Linked DNA regions of Homo sapiens: region 2 is linked to region 1. The links are contacts of gene promoters, found by promoter capture Hi-C in human tissues and cell types (Jung and others, 2019). All regions are on one chromosome and are shown on one strand. The core of a region is centred on a gene start or on the middle of the fragment in contact, and the rest is flanking DNA. Distances in the headings are between cores, read along the strand shown.

Region 1 (3,744 bases), core at 602-3,101:
TTTCAGCCTCTGATGTCAAAAGGTGAAGTAGAGGCCAATAAAACCCTTACTGTGCCTGCTCCGTAGATTGGCCAGAACCATTCCATAGTGGGTAGTCTGTTACGCACAAAACGGAGGGCAGCAACAGGCTGATATCAGTGGTGGAGTCTTTTGAAAGGGATGGTTTCTATTTATCCCTTAGGGAAGAAAGCCTGATCCTGGTTAGTGAGGGAGGGGATATAACAAGGCAAAGCAAGAACTCAGTTTTCAAGGTTACTCTGGGTCCCCTTGGCCAAAAGGGAGTCCGTTCAGTCAGCTGGGGGGCTTAGTACTTAGTTTGTATTTCTCTTGCCTCATTTTTAGGATTTGTAAGATGCTGAAGATAATTGCGTCTCTTTCATAGTGTTGCAGTGAGGATGAAATGAGATGATTCAGATAAAGTGCCAGAACATTAATTCATTTAAATAAATACTTACTGAGCATATATGCCCCATGCATCAGGCCCCTGATGATACAGCAGTAAGTACAACTGATTGAAAGGAAATGAAAACTGCCCCCTTGGATCTTTTAATTCTATATAATGAATAATAACAACGAATCTCTGGCACATAGGAGTGCTATGTATTATCTCTGTTACAAAGCAATATCCTAAGACAAGTTTTATGGTCCTAACCTAAATTATTTCTATATATATATATTTTTGAGACAGAGTTTCGCTCTTGTCGCCCAGGCTGGAGTGCAATGGCATGATCTCAGCTCACTGCAACCTCTGCCTCCCGGGTTCAAGCTATTCTCCTGCCTCAACCTCCCAAGTAGTTGGGATTACAGGCACCTGCCATCACACCTGGCTAAGTTTTGTATTTTTAGTAGAGACGGGGTTTCACCACGTTGGCTAGTCTGGTCTTGAACTCCTGACCTCAGGTGATCCACCCGCTTCGGCCTCCCAAAGTGCTGGGATGACAGACATGAGCCACCGCGCCTGGCCTATTTCTATAATTTTTACTGTAATAAAAGAATAATACTCCACAAATACTTACAGTGATAATGCCTACGGCATAAAGACACAATCCAGGGTAAGCCATTCATTGAGAGGTCACCAGAAACTGGGAAGTTGGGGAAACAAATTTGAAAAAAAGGTCTGCTGATGAAAGTGACTGCATTTACCACACACTTTCGTCCAAGAAAAGCTATGTGAGTACGCCAACGCCGGCCTGAAATCTTCCTAAGAATGCGTGCTTATAGCCTATTTGTTTAAACAGGGGGAGAAAGTTAACATTCAAACACCAGAGATTCTGAATATATTTTATTAGTTCAAATGCCTCTACAGTTAACAGAGTCTCGGGGGTTTGGTTAACAGGGCAGATGAAAGCAGTTCATGAAACAGTGGAAAATATAACCTGATCAAGTCTGATGCAGTCTATAAAGGCAAGGCCCCAGCCTCCGTTGCTACGGCAACCGACTCCGCCCCCACCCGGAGAGGGAACCTGAAACTTGGCGACCCCAGCACCCCAGCGGGGTGGTCGCCTCCCTTCCGTGTCCGCGGCTTTGTTTTTTATGGTTGGGAATAGGTAAGGGACACAAGTCAAGGGGGATGCTAGATTCGTCCCCTCTGGTCTCCGTAGAGGGAGCTATAAAAGGTTCGTCCACAAGCAGAAACCCCTCTGTGGCGCCTCAACGTTAAGGACCCCCACGATTCCCTTTGCCCGGCGGGAGACTAAAGGCCGGAAAAGTACAGCCCGCCCAGGGGTGGGAGCCGAGCTAGCCCCACCTCCCGGTGGCTTCTCGCGATCGTGGAGACGCAGCGAGCCTATGTAACTTCCGGTCGCGACCCATCAGCTCCTCGGCGATTGGTCCGTTTCCACGGCCGGCTGGGTGACGTTATCGCCGGGTCCTGGGGCTGCACGTGTGGTGAGGCCTACAGAAGCGGCCTTCAGCTGGACCTTGGTCTCCCCGCCGGACTTCGAGGGTGTCATCGCCGCCCCTGTTGGGGGTGAGCGCCGCGCGGCTGCAGCATGGTGAGCAAGCCTTGCTTGTTTCGGCGGCCGAGCGCTGTGGTTTTGCAGAGGCCAGGCTGCTTCCGGTAATACCTTGGCTACTGCGGCCCGGGTCTGGGTCATGCCAGAGGCTGCTTGCGGCACGGTACCCCGAAATGGGCCAACGTCACCACCGTGGGCATTCTTTGCAAGTTACAGTCTCCCACCGCCGAGCCTCCCTGGGATGTGGCCCGGAGAGGAGAATGGCCTTTTTGTTTTATCCCTGGGAGCCTGCAGCCCTGCGTGATTTCGGTTAACTAAAAGCTGGTGACTGCCGACACAAACGCGCAACCCTGTGCTTCTTGGGGTCGAGCAGAGGGAGCTGCTGGTCTCCCTCAGCGTTGGAGTGGCAGGTGTCTGCCTGTCTGTTTCCTCTGAGAAAGGGAACTTGTGGGAGAGCATAAGGTTGGGCCCAAAGTAAAGCCACTTAATTGGTTTCCCAGTTTAGAGAATCAAAATTGAATAGCGAAGTAAGAATGTAGAAAGAGGTGATGGATCTTATTAAACTTTAGCTGTTTGTGTCGTGATTTTATTTACTGGTTGGTAGATGCTCTGTGTGGAGCTGTCTACTCCAGATTATGTTGTGGCAGGCTTCTTGTCATTCTAGTTCAGTCGGCCAGGGGCCTTCCCTGAGCAGCCAGTGTAAAGTAGCTTTTAAGGCATTTTCACGTCACTGTCTTATATTTTCTTCACCGGAAATTATCTTGATTTTCTTGCTAAGAACAGGGACTTTATCTGACTTTCCCACTTCTGTATTCTCAGTTCCCATAACAAGGTCTGGCACAAAGTAGGTGCTCAAGGAATGTTTGTTGAAGGAAGGTTAAGTATGGATTCTGCAGAACACAGCTGATGTTGCCTGCCCTAGAAGTGTAGATTTTTAAAAAGTATCTTTAACATGACTACTAAAGATGCATGTGTGGACTATGGAATTATTCTCCGTCTTTTTGTTCTGTTTTAATTAATTGTTGTGATTTTGTTCCTTTGAAGCCTCACAGGAAGAAAAAGCCCTTTATAGAGAAGAAGAAAGCTGTGTCTTTTCACTTGGTCCACCGGAGCCAACGAGATCCTTTAGCAGCAGATGAGAGTGCACCCCAGAGGGTTCTATTGCCCACACAAAAAGTAGGTCCTGTTCTTTAGCCAGTCAGTTTGTAGGTAGACAATAGTTTTTTTTTTCTTTTTTTTTTTTTAAATAAATAGAGTCTTAGCACGTTGCCCAGGCTGGTCTCGAACTCCTGGACTTAAGCAGTCCTCCCAGCTTGGCCTCCAAAAGTGCTGGGATTACAGGCATGAGCCACCACGCCTTGCTATGTTAATAGTTTTTAATAAATTGTTAGCCAGCTGTTATTCTCAGATAACTGATATTCTGGGAAATAATCTATAAGTTAATTTTCAGTACAATTGGTGATTTTTACATCATTCACATTATTTTGATTGGGAAGACAAAGATCTTTATTTGAGATGTTTAAACGAGCAAATCTTGTAGAATAATGGTAAATATTTACCAAAGCACCAGCTACAATGCGGCATGATGTTATTTAGGGCACCGATATATGCTCAAACTGTGCTTTCTCTAAGATCCTGCCGTTTCATAACCGCAAACTGCATTTTGCCTCCTGCTTGCTCATCTTAGGAAATGTAAAATATCTGAGCTCCTTGGTTAGCTCAGGGAACTTTGCAAGGGAGCCTGGTAAAGATTGACTTAATGTTAGACTCTACTTATTAAGACTCTTAA
Region 2 (3,652 bases), core at 961-3,460, 53 kb after region 1:
ATATTTATACAAAAAATGAAAACATGTCCATAAAAAAGATTTACATGATTGTTCATAGCTTTATTCATATAGCGTAAACTGGAAACAACTGAAAATGTCTATCAACAATTGAATAGATAAACAGATTGTGGAATATTTACAAAATGGTCTAGTACTCAACTATAAGGAGGAAATACATGCAGCAACATAGATGTTCTATTATATGAAATTATAGGACAGGGAAATCTTATGAATAGTAATAGGAAATAGATAATTGGCTGCCTGAGACTGGGTTTTGCAAAATATTGACTGAAAGGGGGCATGAGGGAACTTTTTGGGGTGACGAAAATGTTCTGTATTTTAATTGAGGTGGTTAAAATGGATACATTCGTCAAAACTCATTGAACTGTACATGTAAAATAGGTGCATTTAGTTGTGTGTAAATTATTCCTCAAAAAGACTATTTAAGAAAGTGCAAAAACAAAAAGCCACAGTGTAGTCATACTATAAAATCATCTGAAAAATATGTCATCTGAACTTCTATACCAGAAAATAATCCTCATATTTGCTTCCCTTTTATTGAGTGCTAATGAAAATATATCTTGAAATAATGTGTTGTCTTAAGATATTCAGTAGAAAGATCTGTGCTGTGATTTTAGTAATAATGTAAGTACTTTGGCAACAAGTTTCATATAACAAAAAACATCTTTTATGAGAAATATATTCATTTTAAGATTAGAAACTACAGGGTTGATGGCTACCTTATGGTTCTTTAATTGAATAAGTGAAACCATGTCAGATGTCCTGCTGTGTGAATTTCTCTCACATTTTAGATCCAACTTGGATCTAACCGTGACTTGGATCTAAAATGTGGGGATTATTGTTTCTCTAAAAAAAATTCCTTTTGTAAGTCCTCACCAAATGTTCAATTTATTTTTCTTTGTATTTCTATGCTAACACATAATTTTATAATTAACTTCTTTCTTGTGTCCTTAACATAATTTTATGCAACAAACCAAATGATTATATGCACTCCCAACATTTTCACCACGGTTTGATGATTTTGTTTGTGCAAGGATTTTATATTAGCCCAGAATTCTCAGGCTTAAGTTCTAGAGAATTTATTTGTTTTTTGTTGTTGTTGTTGTTTTTGAGACAGAGTTTTGCTCTTGTTGCCCAGACTGGAGTGCAATGGCAGGACCTCGGGTCACTGCAAACTCCGCCTCCCAGGTTCAAGCAATTCTCCTGTTTCAGCCTCCTGAGTAGCTGGGATTACAGGCGCCCGCCACCACGCCCAGCTGATTTCTGTATTTTTAGTAGAGATGGGGTTTCATCATATTGGTCAGGCTGATCTTGAACTCCTGACCTCAGGTAATGCACATGCCTCGGCCTCCCAAAGTGCTGGGATTACAGGCATGAGCCACTGCACCCGGCCAGTACTAAAGAATTTATATACATATAACTAGAGTTATATATAACATGGCCTAACATGCATGAATGTGCCAGTAATTTCCCTTTTTTCCTCAGCATGATTCCCTATTTTCATGATTCAGTTTTTGAGACATGCCTATATTCTACTTTTTAGTGACTTAGCTAAGTCTGTCAATGATTTAAATTTCTAGGATACTGTGACAGTTTATGGGGACAGTGATATAGAATATTTATAATTGTTATTTTTCTATGAGGCCTGGGACATTCAGTTACCATTTTGCATAGCTACATAGACACGGATACACAGCACAATATTGGCATTTTAAAATAATGCTTGGTTTTCCACTTTTCTCTGAGATCTGGCCACCATATTCCTCGAAAGAATTCATTTGGACTCTGACTTTTAAAATCATTACCTATTGAAATAAATAGGACATGGTGATTTTATGAAAACATTATTGATAGAGGAAGAGAGGTGACTCCGATTGAGCTGAGTGTAGAACATGTAGCTCAGTTATGCTGGGTTCAGATTATTGTTGCAGAAAATACAACAATTCTCAAAATATGTGAAGTTCAACATAAATAGAAATCAGCAACCTTGAATGCTCAGCCACAGGACTCTCTCCTGCCTGCTCTCTGCCCCTCTGGTGGGGCCTTATGTTCCTTCTGTAGGGTCCCAGAGGCCCTAGTGCCTCTTCTTCTACAGTTTATCCCACCAAGCAGTAATTGTCTGTTTGCCTAATCATCTCTGAGATTTTCATTGGCAGGGAAATAGACTTCAACTTTGCTGTCTCCATGGTGATATGTAGTACCAAACACAGAAGGGTGGCAGTGAGTGAATGAGCAAGTGGGATTAAGGAAGCAACTCAGTATTGCCATGATCATTGTCTTTGCCTAATGTGAGTAGGGTTTATGGTTGCAGCATTTCTTATGTAAGACTTCACTTTCCAGCTGGCAAAATTGAAGAAATAACCACCAAGCTAAAAGCCATGTTCTAGATGGTTCTTCTAAACCATTGTAAATGAATTCTGAATGATAATGGCACTTTCTATTGTACTTTTTTCCTAGGCAGTTTCACTTCTATTTGGTAGTTGGAAACACAACCTTGCTGAACCTGTTTCCTTATAGCAATAGCTAGCATTTACAAAACATTTAGTATGTTCCACCCCGCCCACTGTGCCAGGCCCTTATGTGGATTTTCATAGTTAACTTTCACAACAACCCGATGAAACAGGTGATATGTAGGTGCTGGGAAAATGGAAGCTTAAGGAGGTTGGGTAACTTGCCCGAGTTCACACACATAGCAAGTAAAGAACTCAGGCTCAAAACCAGTCAGGCAAGCTCCAGCACTGGGCTTTTTATCATTTCCCAATGCTGTCCTGTTCTATTTTTTTTCAAGGCATTTATCTCCGTGTGAAATTTTTATTTATTTGTTTCTGTGCTAGAATGCTTACTCCTTGATTTCAGAGACATTGCATCCCCAGGTGTAAGACAGCACCTGGCACCAAGTAGATGCTCAGTCAGTGTTAAATTAATGATGAGGTACTGCCTTCTGGATGGAGTAAGAAATAAAGGATAAGGCTACCAGATAATTCCTAAGTGCTTAACAATTGTTACATCTTATGAATATACATTTTAGGAAATGATTTGTTCAAATAGGAAACTCCCCAAACTGCTTAAAAAGGTGGCTTACAAAAAATTCTTAACATCACTACATGAAATACCCATCCACGCATGTAGGAATTTTGACTATACACTAACACAAGTTCTACACTGAGTTTGAGGTTGATGCAGTTTCACACCCTTCCTGGGGTCGGGGCGGTGGGATTATTTTATGTTGCTGATATCTAGTGTGCTATCCCTTTAAGGTGCCTGAAACAAAACAAAGCAAACACCAATCCCTGCTTGATTTAGAGGGGTAGTTGCCAACCTAGTTTTGCTATGAGCAGCTCCACATTCTAAGAAGATCTTGCCTGTTTCCCACTTCTCATTTCTCTCCGTAACCAATTATGTCTGTTAATTGCAAATGAAAGAAGAAAAAAAAGATATTATACAGAACCACAGAGAACCTGGGGCCGACAGGAGCTGCCTGGGCCATTGCATCTCTGGAAGCTGAAGCTGTTTTCGGTGAACTTTCCTATCATCCCTCCTTCTTTCCCTTTTCTGTTTTTTGAGTCCTCACCTTTTATCCTATTACTATCTCCTTCCTGAATATATTGCCTGCTCACTTAGTAGTTAAGTG

What was found. Contacts are between HindIII fragments. The study calls those that stand out against the background at their distance.
Region 2: a contact is called between a fragment that was not itself captured here and the fragment with the promoter of LTV1 in region 1, in 1 of the 25 tissues and cell types used here (aorta).

Annotation. Positions count from the first base shown.
Region 1 is chr6:143,841,487-143,845,230 of GRCh38, forward strand. LTV1 (LTV1 ribosome biogenesis factor) reads left to right here and starts at 1,852. Exons shown (of 11, transcript NM_032860.5): 1 at 1,852-1,994; 2 at 3,000-3,131. The coding sequence starts at 1,992. RefSeq lists enhancers at 1,656-1,705, 1,886-2,095, 2,286-2,355. The HindIII fragment of the contact is 16,427 bases long and covers 1-3,744 here.
Region 2 is chr6:143,894,049-143,897,700 of GRCh38, forward strand. The region is part of intron 4 of ZC2HC1B (zinc finger C2HC-type containing 1B); the gene reads left to right. Among named protein-coding and RNA genes, the nearest start is that of ZC2HC1B, 31 kb to the left of the region's middle. The HindIII fragment of the contact is 3,121 bases long and covers 651-3,652 here.